Linked DNA regions of Homo sapiens: all the other regions are linked to region 2. The links are contacts of gene promoters, found by promoter capture Hi-C in blood cells and fetal thymus (Javierre and others, 2016). All regions are on one chromosome and are shown on one strand. The core of a region is centred on a gene start or on the middle of the fragment in contact, and the rest is flanking DNA. Distances in the headings are between cores, read along the strand shown.

What was found. The method cuts DNA at HindIII sites, captures the fragments that hold promoters and counts their contacts. A CHiCAGO score of 5 or more calls a contact.
Region 1: a fragment that was not itself captured here is called in contact with the fragment with the promoter of MDGA1 in region 2 in 1 of 17 cell types (megakaryocytes); the score reaches 5.6 in megakaryocytes.
Region 3: a fragment that was not itself captured here is called in contact with the fragment with the promoter of MDGA1 in region 2 in 1 of 17 cell types (monocytes); the score reaches 6.7 in monocytes.

Annotation. Positions count from the first base shown.
Region 1 is chr6:38,569,429-38,573,726 of GRCh38, forward strand. All of the region lies in intron 6 of BTBD9 (BTB domain containing 9), which reads right to left. Among named protein-coding and RNA genes, the nearest start is that of BTBD9, 68 kb to the right of the region's middle. The HindIII fragment of the contact is 4,387 bases long and covers 276-4,298 here.
Region 2 is chr6:37,696,385-37,701,268 of GRCh38, forward strand. MDGA1 (MAM domain containing glycosylphosphatidylinositol anchor 1) reads right to left here and starts at 1,499. Exons shown (of 17, transcript NM_153487.4): 1 at 361-1,499. The coding sequence starts at 427. RefSeq lists enhancers at 1-122, 123-852 and silencers at 395-554, 585-874, 1,055-1,114, 1,175-1,304, 1,365-1,434 and 3 more. The HindIII fragment of the contact is 24,309 bases long and covers 1-4,884 here.
Region 3 is chr6:38,477,185-38,481,821 of GRCh38, forward strand. The region is part of intron 6 of BTBD9 (BTB domain containing 9); the gene reads right to left. It overlaps BTBD9-AS1 (BTBD9 antisense RNA 1), which reads left to right and starts at 4,412. Exons shown (of 2, transcript NR_144472.1): 1 at 4,412-4,602. RefSeq lists an enhancer at 202-725. The HindIII fragment of the contact is 2,733 bases long and covers 307-3,039 here.

The sequences.
Region 1 (4,298 bases), core at 1,219-3,718, 870 kb after region 2:
TTAATCCTGGGCCTAACTGCTTGGGAAGCAACTGTTAGCAGAGGCAAATATAGTTTTTGCCCTTTCAGAATGAAAAACAGGCAATGGCTATTTGTGGTAATAACAACAGGTGATTAATGTTAGTAACATCATCTCATGCAATAAGCTTATTAGGACACTAATTTATATTCTAAAATTATAAAATACAATGCAAAGGAAAAGGGCAATCCTGTTCTGTTTTCTCACACAAAAGAAGCTCAACATGTTATTATCCTCTAAACAAAACAAAACAAAGAAGCTTGGATTCAATTGAATAACTTAAGGACAAACAGTCATTTCTCAAAGGTCTTACTGAATATAAAACATGGCGGGGTTTTGGGGGATTTTTTTGCTATTGTTGTTGTGTTTTCCCCCTAATAAAAGGGTTCTAGATGAAAATAATAAACAGAAAATTTCCCAACTAAAAAAAAAAAGCAACTCAAGGTGTGAAGAGATCTTGTAAATAAAAATTTCCTAATATATGGAATTTGTTTCTAAACACAGTTTAATGAAAACAAGCTAGGATTCAAGAATATTAGGTTCACTCTATAATAATACTCTAAAATGATCTTATGGAGAACTAAGGGGCAGGAAAATTCGAAGCTCTACAAACAAACTGACAAAACATACCTAGATAAAGGATTGCTGCACTCCCTTTGGAGCATTTTAAAACAGAAAATATCCCCGGTTGTTCATCATCATTATTAGTATAATGTGTGTGTAGTCTGGGTGGCTGTGACCAGCACTAGTAGAATTTGGCCACAGCAGGTCCTCCCCTACAGGATTGCTGGAAACTGCTCCTTCCAAAGAGGTAGTAAGAGCTTCTTCAGGGCTCAATGCCTCCTTCTCCTACTCTAAGGTAGAGCTATTTCTTTACCTTGATTCTTGCATCAGCAATGTAATGTGGAGTCAGGCAGACCTGGTTACAAATTTAGCTTTTCTAAGGCTCAATTTCCTCACCTATAAAATTAAGTAGCGGTTTTTCTCCTACAGGACTATTGTAAGAATTACACAAGGTAATGAGATGTGCCTGACCCACAGAAGATACTCAATAAATGTTAGACTGTTCCCTTCCTACCACTTCTGAGGTCCTGTAACCTCATTTCTCTTTATCCTCATTCCTCTTTTCTTCTGTTTTCTGATTCCTTTTACATATTTAGAGAATCTATCTCCTATCTCCTTTGAGTTACTCCTCTCTTTCAAAATTCCAAAGGAAGGTTAAAAAATATATATATTTGCATGAAACTGAATAGCTGGACTACAGAAGCCCACATTTCTCCTATGCCTTGCAGATGACAACTCAAGAACTAGCTAGCAAGCACCAAAATATATACCTCTGGACTTTGGACATAATTAACGCTCCACATCAGCAGAAAGACTTAAATAGTACAAATAGTTTCACATGTTATTTCACAAATCACAGACTTTCAGAACAATTTATATTTAAATATGATGGTGTAAAAAAGCAATTTTTAAATTCTCTTTAGCTTCGAGTAAAATTGTTATAATTTAGTGACACCATGTGGCTACACTTTGCTTTGCATTCTTAGAAGAAAATGTTCCTCTATGAGGGTTGCTCTTGCTAGTTCAATTGTAATATCAAGGTTGTAGGTAGATGGACAACTCAAACTAAGTATGAACTAAAAAGATAACTTTTTAAAAAATGAAACTAATCCTGTTTCTTTTACATCTGAATAAGGCATTTCTTGAATTGTGAAGCTCTTCAGTCATAAGAAGAAAGTAAAGGCTCAGTATTATTCTAGCTAGGATTCTAAAGCAATCTAGTGAACACTGAATAATGTAAGAGTGTCTACCTTTAAAAGTAAATAGATACATCAATGCCCAGTTATGGGCAGAGGTGTAGGGAACAAAAGAGAAATGAAAGAAGACATATGTTATACAAGTGTTAATATAGCAGGGAAAGAATGCTTCCATAAATAGCAATGCTTATTTTCTCATTTATTTTATGTAGATCTATAGCACTATGTAAGTACTATAATCTAATGAGAATAGGTGAAAAAAAATTATGCTGTATCTATTGACACCAGGAATGAGGGGGGCCTAGAATGTATAGTAGCAATAAATGAGATTAAAATGCCATATACCAAAACACAGTAAAGTTAGAGTATTCCTCTAATGAGGTCTCCCACAGTAGACCAGCTACTGCCAAATAACATTCAATGTACACCAAAGAAAATATTTAGATGTTGTGTAAATATCTAAAACAATGGGCCAGGCATGGTGTCTCACACCTGTAATCCCAGCACTTTGTGAGGCTGAAGCAGTCAGATCGCTTGAGTCCAGGAGTTGAAGACCAGCCTGGGCAACATGGCAAGGCCCCATCTCTACTAAAAATAGAAAAAACTAGCTGAGTGTGGTGACACATGCCTGTAGTCCCAGCTACTCAGGAGGGTGAGGTAGAAGAATCATTTGAGCCCAGCAGGCAGAGGTTGCAGTGAGCCAAGATTGCACTACTGCACTCCAGCCTGGGTGACAGAGCAAGCCCATCTAAAAAACAAAGAAACAATCACACACACACACACACACACAAAACCAAAAACAAATAAAACAATGACCAGAAAATATCACCCCCTTCATCTCAGCTTAAAACACCTACCCCCCATCTCTGGCCTTTTCTAACCATCCTATTTAAAATAATCCTTCTCCCCTGACTTCTGTTACTATCACAGTACCATCTTTGCAACACTTATAATTATGTGATGTGCTTATTATTTGTTTGTTTTAATCTGTTTCTCCCAAATTCCAAAAGCACAGAAACCTTGGCAATCTTCTTCAGTGTTGTGGCCTCAATATCAAGTACAACAATAGCATAAAGTAGGCGCTTATTTGTTGAATGGGTGAGTGACGAATGAATACATAAAATCTATTTCCTTAGCTGGTGAAGCATGCCTAAATTTCCTGTTGTAAGTGAAAGTAGAACCATTCTAGTGAGATGTTTATCATCACTTACGGCCTCTAATGTGACTACAACAACCAGAAGACAGCCTAGCAGATGCTCTATGATACCCTTTCTTTTTTCTATGACACATATGGCACACACAATTTCTCATTCTAAGAAAAGAAGAAAAAGGAGGGAAGTGAACTACAATAATTAAAATACTTTCAGCAAGAATCAAAGAAATCAGTGGAACTGAGTAGGGTATATGCTAGAATCCAGCTCATCATAAATATGGCTGATCACATTAGGATAGCAAGAAATGATTATCAAATAAATGACTTTAATCAACTGACTATCCCTACCTGAAAAGATCTATGCAAAATATCCTGACTGTATTAAATACTTAAGATATAAGGCTTAAAAAAAAAAAACAAGTAGTGGAAAAAATATATATATATACATAAAAGTTTAACATACTTTAATATTAGAGTGAGGAATAATCTTCTAATCATAATACCAAGCCAGAAATCATTTAAAAGACTGACAGATTTGAATACATTTTTTAAAAAGTAAAATTCTATATGGCAAAAAGTACCAATAAAACACTAAAAATGCGTTAACAAATTTCATATATGACAGGCAAAAGGATAATGTCATATATATATATGTATTGATACAAAGTTCTCACAAGACAAAAAGAAAACTATCTCAGAAGAAAAATATGCAGAAGACAAAAACAGGCTTTTCATAAATAAGAAATTAACAAATGGCCAGTATTAAAAGATACTTTAACTCACCAATAAAGAAATTCAAAGTAAAATAGGATTTTTGTTTTAAACAAATTATGTATTACATTGGCAAAACGGTGACAGTGTCTGCATTGGTGAAGGTTCACAGAAAGGGGCATTTTTACATGCAATTGGTAGAAATTGAGTACAACATTTCCAGATGGCAAGTTTTATCAATATTTAAAATATATACATTATAACTTTATAATGAGAGATATTTCCATTTTGATAATTTTTTAAAAAAGGAAATAAAGAAAGAAACCGTTTTGTATTAACCAAGTTCATCTCTCCTATGCCAGACTCTAAATTGTCAATTTACACCCATCTCAACACCCTGTCTGGCCTTGTCTCCAGTAAACAACGCTCCTAATCCTCCTCTAAACTCTGACCAGCCCCTGAAGTAAATACCTCTCCCACCTACGCTCTTGTTCCCTCTCTCAACGGGCATAACCTTGAGAACGTTGCTTTTAGCCCTGCTTTCTTCTCTCTCAACTCCCAGGTTTTAGACCAAGATCCCACTTGCAATTCCAGCCACCAGTCACATGCACACTTTGAATTCTACTTCTATCCATTTTCGCTCATGTTCTAAAGTT
Region 2 (4,884 bases), core at 249-2,748:
GCCGAGCCAGGACGAGGTTTCGGTGCAAGTCGCTGCACCAGTCCTAGACTGGGTCTGTCCGGGTCTCCCGAGCCGACCGGGTGCTCTCAAGGGTTCCTAATCATTCCCACCTCTAGCAGGGTGTGGGAAAGTGGGTGCCTCCTCCTGACATCCCGGCTTCCCACCAGACCCTACGACCGGCCCCTGTGTTCCGAAGCAGCTAGCTCGGTCTCCACGCGCCCTGGAGAGGGCGGGGACGCGGGCATCCACTCCAGAGTCCGAGTCGAGGTCTCCACCAAACCCCGGCAGCGCGCACTTTGCGCCTCTTGCAAAGTTTCCGCGCGAGGTTAAGCCAAGGTGGAGCGGGACGCGGGCTCTTACCGTAGACTCCTTGTCCCCGGCAGTGGAAGGGGATCAGCGCCAGAAGTAGAAGGCAGGTCACCTCCATCTTCACGGCCGGTGCTTCATCCCCGCGAGGCGGCGCAGCCCGAGAGGCGGCGGGGGGCGCATTCGCCGGGGCCCCGCGACGCCCCTATGTCCCCCCCTTTCCCTGAGAGGTGAGAGAGAGAGCGGCGACGAAGACCAGGAGACTGAAGAGGCGGAGGTGGCGGCGACCCGTGTTTCTCCTCCGGCGGGGCCGCTGCCCGCGTGGGGACGCAGGGGGCGCTGGCCCAGCCCCGGGTGCCTCGGCGCGCCCGGCACAGCAGCCAGCGCCCCGACCCGAGGAGCCCGGCCGCCGAGCCGCCCCGGGTACCCAGGGCCGTCCGCGCGGGATGCTAGGCGCCGGGGACCTCTCGGCGGCGGAGGCGGCGCTTCGATCCAACAGGCCACGGACGACTGACAAACTTGTCGTTTCCCCGCACTGGGGCCGCCCCTCAGCGGAGCGGAGTCGGGGAGGCCGGGGCTCCGCTCGAGTTAATCAATCTGCTGTTTCCAGTCCTGCGGCCGCTGCCGTGGGCTCAGCGGCCCGACTCCAGGGGGCCGGGCTGAAAGCACTCGCGGCGGCGAAGCAGCCCCGGGCCCGGCCCTCCTGATCCGGGGAGCAGCGCGGGCTGGGTTCGGCCGAGGGACGAGCGCCGCGGGTCCCCGGGTCCGTGAAGTTAGCCGAGCCGCCGATAAACCCGGGGGAAGAATAGCAGCCCGGCGCCCCGCGGGAATCTGGAGAGCAATTCCAGGCAAGAAGGGCCCCAGAAAACGGGGAAAGGAGGAAAGTTTGAGTCTTTTGAAAAATATTCGCGCTCTCGCCCAGGCCGGGGCTGCGGCGCGGGCGCCGCTCGCCGCCTCCGCTCGCCGCGCTCCTCTCCCGCCGTCTGGCCGCGGCCGTAGCCCTCCCGGGCTCCGAGCTCTCGGGAGAGCGGGGCTACGCCGCGCCCCAAGTTGGTCGTCCCCGCCCCCGCCCGGCGGCCTTGGCCTGCGGGGGCCCAGAGCGGGCGGGGCCGGGCCGGGCTCCGGGGCGCGGCGGCCGCTCGGCTCCGGGCCGCGGGAGCGCTCCGCTCGCTCAGCAACTTGGGCTTTGCTGTGCTGCTTTTTCGCCCCTCCGAGCTTTTCATTCCGCGCTCCTCCCGCCTCCCTCCCTCTCTTCCTCCTCCCTCCTCCTCGCGTCTCCTCGTTCGGTCTCTCGCTCTCCCACCCGTTGTCGCTCGCTCTCCTGTTTGATTCCCCTCCAGTTAAAAAAAGGAGCCAATTAAAGGCAGCCCAGCTCGCCTGGCCCAGCCTCTGTCCAATTTCCTCGCCTCCCCCAGGACCAATTAGAGAAAACAAAACAGGGCTGGGGGAAGCTGACTGCCTGCCTTTCTCTTTCTCTTTCTCTTTCTCTTTCTCTCTCTCTCTCTCTCTCTCTCTCTCTCTCTCTCTCTCTCTCTCTCTCTTTCTCTCTCTCTCCTCTCTCTCTCTTCTCTCTCTCCTCTCTCTCTCCCTCTCGCTCTCTCTCCCTTCCTCTCCTCTCCTCTCTTTCCCTTTCTCCTCTCCCTCTCTCTCTCTTCCTCTCTCCGCCCCCTAACATTCCCCCCCAACCCCGCCCAGCAGGAAAATGTCAGAAAGCAGAAATGGATCCATCTATCCCGAGGACAGTGGCGGAGGGACCTGGGTTTCGGCGGGGGCTCTGCAGCCGCGCGCTCGCACACTCGCTGTTCTCCAGCCTTGCACACCCAGACTAGCTGGCCGAGCCGGGTGCACCGTTGCCAGCAGCCCGCGGGGCAAACACGGCCGCTCGCTTCGGAGACCCATGCCCGCAGGGCACTGCACACTTCGTAAATGTTTTGCACTTTGGGGAGGCGGGACTGAAGCGGGGGTCCTAGGGAAAGGCCGGGCGCCTGCGGTTCCTGGGGTCCTGCAGCCGCGCGAGACGGGCCGCGGCTGTGGGTCTGCAAGGCTGTCTGCCCGGCTCGAGAGGCCCCCGCCCCTTTCCAGGCGTCTGGTGCTGGGGCCGGGCCGGAGCAGCTGGCGGAGAGGTCGCGCTGAGAGCTCCTGCCCTTGCCGCGGCCCACAGGTTGCCAACAGGTTTGCTCGCACGACCCCTCCGCCAGAGCTTCCCTAAGTCACCCCACATTTTCCTCGGCTAGCCACTCTTCCCATCTTGCCTCCCCTCGGGACCTCAGGCGCCCCCAAGCGCCCCGGGGGCACACCTCCTTCCGGCTGCCGAACCCGAGCCCCGCTCCAGCGGCGGGAGTCCGGCACTCGGGTCTCAGCCGCCTCGAAGGGGCCCTCGCGGAGCAGGAGTGCGGAGAACGCTCCTCCCAAACGCCCGCGGGGAGGGGCGTAGGCTGGCAAGCGAGGCTGGTGGCCTCCCCCGCGCCTCCGATCCCGCCCCGCGCCCAACCCGGGTCCTGCTAATCTCACCTGCTCCACCTGTCGCCGTTATTTATCTCAGCGTGTGCGCAAGAATTGTTTTAGGTCGGCCCGTGGGAGCGCAGACAATCGCAGCAGCTAACAAGCGGGGAGACTACGAACCCCCCCTCCCTTCGCCCCCTGGAACTGCTCAATATCTTGATGGTGGTTCCACGGCTCTATGCATTTGTCAAAACTCAAAGATCTCCACACTCCAAAAAGGTTAGTCTGCATATAAATTGAAACATAAATTTTTTTAAAATAATAATAATGAACCGTCCCTTCCCCAGGCCCATTTCCTGCTGGGTCTCTCCTCCCTTGACTCTCCAGGGCTTAAGCCCCACCGGAGCGCGCGCTCCTGACTGCTGGAAGAGGAGCGGGAGGTGTCGGGAAGTGCCTGGTGGCATGGGGGGGTTCCACCTTCCTTTCTCAGCCCCCTTTCTGTCCATCTCAGGAAGCCCGAGAACATCCGAAGATTCCTATTCTCTAGCCCACCTCCACTCGTTTGCGCCTCCCTTGTGCCCTCTTCCGTCTTTTCTCTCCTTTCTACCCCGTGGGTCCAAGGCTGATAGGAAGTCCAGACTCAGTGCGGTGCTCCCAGCAGATGCCAGCTGCAGACATGTTCAGTGAATTCACGAATGATGCCCATCATGGCCAGATATCACAGACCTGGGATACCCTCAGGGTAGCCATCCTTTCACTCCCCAGCCCCGGACTGTTACCTCAAAGGCAAAAAATTCATTTTCTGTCCCACAGAGATACACAGCCACCATGCCTCTTCCCGCCTCCCCCATCCAGTCAGAAAAGGAAGTGGTGCCAATTGAGGGAGTGATGAGGGATAGCTTCTTCTATTGTCATCCTCTTCCCATTATTAGAGGGTTCCTGGAAGTCTCTACCCCTTCCAGGAAGCTCTCAGGGAGTGATCACAGCGACTGTGGCTCTTCCTGGCTTTGCCCATTCTGAGCTGAATGTGTACTTCTCCATGTCGTGCGAAACTGCGCTCTGATTTTCCAATTAGCTGTTCCAACACCAAACAGCAGTCAATTGCTCCTCTTTGGCTTTGGGGTGAGTTACTGGGGACAGAGAACTGCACTGACTCAGCTGACATTCTCTTGACTTTGCCCTCTCTAAACTCACACACTAGCCTGGAGGAGAAAGAAGGTTCATGATGGCGGGGTGGGGGGAACAGAGGACCAAGTTAGCCAGGCTGGGATTGAACATTTGCTGTAGCTAATCCACTTGTGAATACTCTGCAGCTAATTGTATGCAGTGTAAATACCTTGACAGCCTGTTTGTGTGTGTCTGTAAATTCAGCTGTCTCCTCCCCCAAGTGTGCCCTGCCTGCTGCCTCAACACAGCCCAGTGTCTGACAATGGGAGGCAACCTCAGAGAAGGGAAAGAGCCCTAGACATCAGTCCTGCGTCCCAGTCCTAACCTCTCTAGGCCTCAGTTTCCCCAGATGTAAACTAGGTAAGATCCCTGTCTTCCTAGAGAGAAGTGGAGTAATAAGAATAACAGCTGACACCACATGCCAGGCACTGTATTAACTATTTAATCTTCATAACCATTATGTAAGACAGGGCTGTTATTCTCATGGAATGACATAGGAAGATGTAGTGACTCACTCAGCTGCTAAGGGGCCAAACTGAGCTTTGACCTCAGTAGCTTGGCTCGGCGACCTTGCCCTCTCCCACTGTTCTATACTGAAGAGGGGCAAGGGCCTAGGTATCAAATAATGTTTCCACAAGAACTGTTTCCTGTTCCCTTTACAGACACAGAGAACAATACTCTGGCCCCCAAATTGCACCAAGGGCAGGGGGGACATGAGAGCTAGACTGCTAGACCTGACATGGGCCATAGGGCACAGGATGAGCCTGAGGTCAGGCTATCTGGAGGCTTGGTGGTCAGCACCCAGCTGCCAAGTCTTCGGTTCCACTCAAGATCATTCTAGGTCACTTCCCACTAGAAAAAAAAATATATATATATATATGTGTGTGTGTATATATATATATATATATATATATATATATATATATATTTGCCTCAAAGAAAACCTAGCACTTGGGCCCCAGGAGGTTT
Region 3 (4,637 bases), core at 423-2,922, 780 kb after region 2:
GCTTTCTTTCTCTAATTACTGGGGATGACAATCAAAATTAGAGGAGAGTAAAGTAATCCAGATGTACAAGGAACAGAAGCAAAATGAAGTAGTTAAAAGACATTTTATTAGAGACTAAGAGCGATTCACTTCAACTAAGTGTTACCTAGTACCTACTATGTGCTAGCTGTAACATCGAAATACAATTGAATAGACAGGGCTTATTTTGTAAGAGCAAACTCTCATCTACAGGACATGCCAGGGGCAGAATCATGCTTACAATAAGATGCTCAGAAGCAAGACTGTCTTTTCCTTTATACCTAAAAAAGCTTGTTTAGCAAACAGAGTTATCTTTATCTGAAATGCTTCTAATCCTGTGCTTTGTATTTATATCCATACCTTTTAGATAAGACCTACTTTATTGCCAATTCTCACATTTTACTGAGCTAACGAGCAGTATCTATATTTGCTGATTTTATTTTCTGTCACCCTAGTGTTATCATAACTTAATGCTATCAGGGAATAGGAAAGAATCAATGCTGATTATAGTTAAGAAAGCGAGGATGAAAGCAATACGAACTGGGGGTATTTGAATTTGTAAAGCCTCTACAGGAGGTCTTCTTATCCTCGAGTCATTTAAGAATTACTCACTTAACTCAAACTGAGCAACGATGCCACGAACACATCAAGTAAAGCCATCAGTGGCTCTGTGGTGAGGCAGCATGGTTTAGTGGAAAGACAATTCACACAAGGTCTTTAGAGTCAGGTGAACCCGTTTTTGAAATCTGGCCCCATCACTTTTTAAAAACGGTGCAACCTCTCTGGGCTTCAATTTCTTCATCTGTAAGAATGAGAATACCCCTGCTGCCACAGGGATGTTATACAGGATTAGGTAAGACAAAAAGCATGTGTGAGTGCCTAAGAGGAAGCAGCATGTGGTCAATACATGCTGTTTCCTCTCTTTTCCCTCAACTGCTTCCTACCAGGAAGGGGGAGGGGGTCAGAAGTTTAAAAATTTTACCACCAGTCTCTGATTACGTGCGTATATATGTGAGGAGAAACATGTGCAAAGGAAGGTTATATATTTCTGAGTACTGGGCTCTCATGAGCTTTGCCACCTTTAAAATATTTTGGTTTTATTTTATTGATTTTGACTATCATATTAGCTTACTCATATATATCATCTGACACATCCATTTACTGGTCTTTTAAGCATCTCTGGGCATGTGGATGCTTGAAAAATAGTTTATTAGTATGATTTGACTATCTCTATCTTGTCTCCTATTTTTTTTAGAGAATTACATGGCCGGCAGTGAGGATGGTGTCAAATCTCATCAGTCATCTACAACCACTTTCTCTGACCCTTTCTGCATCATTGAATTTGACTCCCTTTCTTCCCATACTCTCCTTAGAGGACCTAAGAGGAAATGTGCATGGGCAGACAAAACAGAAAACTAAAGGAGGGAAGATAAGTGGGTTCTTGGCTTCCGGAAGGATTCTGACCTACTTCACTTGCCTTCAAATTCTGTGTGAATTTATTTCAGAAGCTACAGGGAAGAGCTAAGAACTCCTGTTTTCCTTGGAGAAGGGAAGAAACAAATGCCAGATTAAAACTCAGAGGAAACTCTGGAAATTATAAGCGAGGCTGCTACTATATAATGACCAAGTCGCCTTGGTATGTCTTGTGAGCTAAAATTCCATTTCACTTTTATCATATATAAAACCAGGATTATAGCTCCAGGAGGAGCTACAATCTGTGTTCTCTTTGGTCTATCTGAACATCCCAAATAGTATCACAGTCTACCTGAAGAAGTGCTGCTGAAATAGACTGACAATGCTTCAATTATTTTGGCTGCAGGCAAAGACAAAATAAGTCTCAGGAGTTCTCCAAAAGCTCAAAAAGTTCTCTGTAAACTATGCTGTTATCAAATGGAAACTACAAGAACGCGACCAACACCACAGGAGGAGAGATTTCCCTGGGCTTTGCTCTGGCTATGAAAGAGTTTCCAAATATACAATGAAAAGTCAGTGGAACCTGACAGGCGCCCAATGTGGAGCACAGGGGTTCAGACACACAACCCCTCCAGCTCCTCTCCCGACGGCTTCCCACCCACTGAGCACTGGCCAAACCCTGGTTAAGCGAGCACTGACCTTCCTGTTTATCTGATAATCCACACAGTGTAGATGGGAAAAAATTGAAAGATAGAAAGGAGGAAGCATAAAAAAAATCATTTCCTCAATGTTAGTAAAAACATAAATTGGTTACATGACAAACATGAGGTGGTGACTATGTTAATGGTACAATGGCAAAGTTATTACAATCTTTGGAAGAAAAAAAAAATCCCATTTCTTCACAACTTTCCAACATTTTAAAATCCAAGCCCAGGCTTGAATCACTGCTTTATGAGGTAACACTCCCTTTCTGACTGCATCCGTGTGACTGGGCCACCAAGTCCCACTGATGTAGTTGGTATTACTACTGCTCAATCAACACCTCTCAGAACAACAACTTTCACTTCAGAATCCAAGCCTCAAGTTATAGGGGGCACTAAAATCTTTTTTTATTTTTATTTTTATTTTTAAAAGACAGGATCTGGCTCTGTCGCCCAGGCTAGAGTGCAGTGGCGTGATCTCGGCTCACTGCAACCTCCACCTCTCGGGCTCAAGCAATCCCGCTGCCTCAGCCTCCTGAGTAGCTGGGACTACAGGTGTGCACCACCATGCCCAGCTAACTTTTGTATTTTTGGTAGAGAAAGGGTTCCGTCATGTTGCCCAGGCTGGTCTGGAACTCCTGGGCTCAAGCGATCCTCCTGCCTCGGCCTCCCAAGGTGTGGAGATTACAGGCATGAGTCACTATGCCCAGATGAGCACTAAAATCTTTAAATAAACGCTCTTTTCTATAGACTGCTAAGAGAAATAGAAGGGAAAAAAGCAATACAATACTTAAGATTTACTGGAGAAGTACTACTGGGAATTGAGGGGAGAGTGTACTCTTTGGAAACAGATAAACGTAGCTCTGAAACCCTGCCTTGCTCCTTGCTAGCTGCATGATTCTGAGCAAGCTTCTTGATACTCAGCTTCCTCATCCATAAATACGGGGAGCAATGCACTTCCTTTGCAGGGCTCTTGTGGGCTGAGAGACAGCATGCATTCAACACTCAGAGTACCTCTCCTTTGTCGGTGCTCAATAAACAGTAGCTCATCTCTGCCATTCCTGGAGTTAAGGCAGAAGACCCACAGTACAGCACTCTGCTTAGGAGCTCTTATGAAAGTGTAGGTCAGATTGGTGCAAGTCCTGTCAAATGGGCATTGGTGGGTTACACAATCTGCTTTTAGCCTCTCATTTAAATTAAGCATGGGCCAGAACATCAAACTCTTTTCAAGAAATCAGTGCTGTAACTGGGACCCTGAGACTACCTCCATGCAAAGTAGTATATAAGTAAAAAGCTCTAATTTTGCTTGTAGCTCAGCTATAGAACACGCCAAAACCCCCCACCAAACCCACTGTTCTAAGTAATGGAAGTGTACTCTGAGAACCATCTGAAAAGAAGCCTGACAACTTGCCTGTCTTATTCCCCACCTGACCTCAATCTTTCTTCCTCTGAGTGGATGATTCCAGTGCCAGTTTTAGATCCAGTGCCTACCCAAGATTTGGCGCTTCCCAAACAGACTGTAGTGTTGGTAGACAGCATATAGCCATCACACAGGCTGACACTAAGAGATAGTGGGTATGAATGTGCGCTCTGTGCAAAATCCTCATGGGGAAGGAAGGCAACACCTGGGTACCTTTGGCAATGTAAAAATTCCCTTCTTTTAAAAATGCTCTTTAAACAAAGAGCTTTATATCTAGACTCAAAAATGCCTTTCCATCAGTATCAGCTTCTCCCAGGTAAAAGGAAGTGAAGACAGAAACAATGGAAATCCCATTGAGTAGGGAGAGGCAAAACAGAAAGGTTTATTCTAACGTGAGAGGAGCCCATGATGATGTGAAAGGGAAAGAAGAGAGAAGAATGGCATATAACCTGGAAGATTCAAGTACATTCACAGATAGATACTTTCCCAAGGTGTGCAGGAATCTAGCCCTTCTTCAAGGAGACAACCATAGCATCATATAATTCAAATTAATTCCTTTCTGAATGAGAGCTGAGTAACAAAGACAAAACTTGGCAAGATGGCACAGCACAGTGAGTGCAAAATTGTATTCCCAGTTGATACTTGGTGAGATGTTAGGTTGTCAGCTTAATGTAAAATAAAATGAGGCCGCACATCGTAAAGTGTTTTGAAAAGTAAAAATCCAAGGGAGATAGGAAGGCAGCATTTTAATGAGTCTAGAGAAAATGAATTCCAGGGTGAGCAGCTCTGCTCACGACCTCTTTTCAGTTGGTATCCCATAGGCCTCTGGGAAGCGGGGCACATGAGGGAGGGGCCAGTGCCTGCCTCCACACTACCCCCTCTCCCCTAATGAGGCTGGCAGCACCATTTGCTAGCACCTGGCAGATGAGAGAGAAAGAAAACCTGGTGTGGAGACCCCCATCCATTAAAGGCAAGAGAGTGAAAAGTGGGAGAGAAAGCTCCCAAGTTCAACAGCAGTGACCTAGGGTCATGCAGTGAGGACTTACAAAGGTATAAAAGCTTCTTTATTCAGGTGGTTCCTTTCA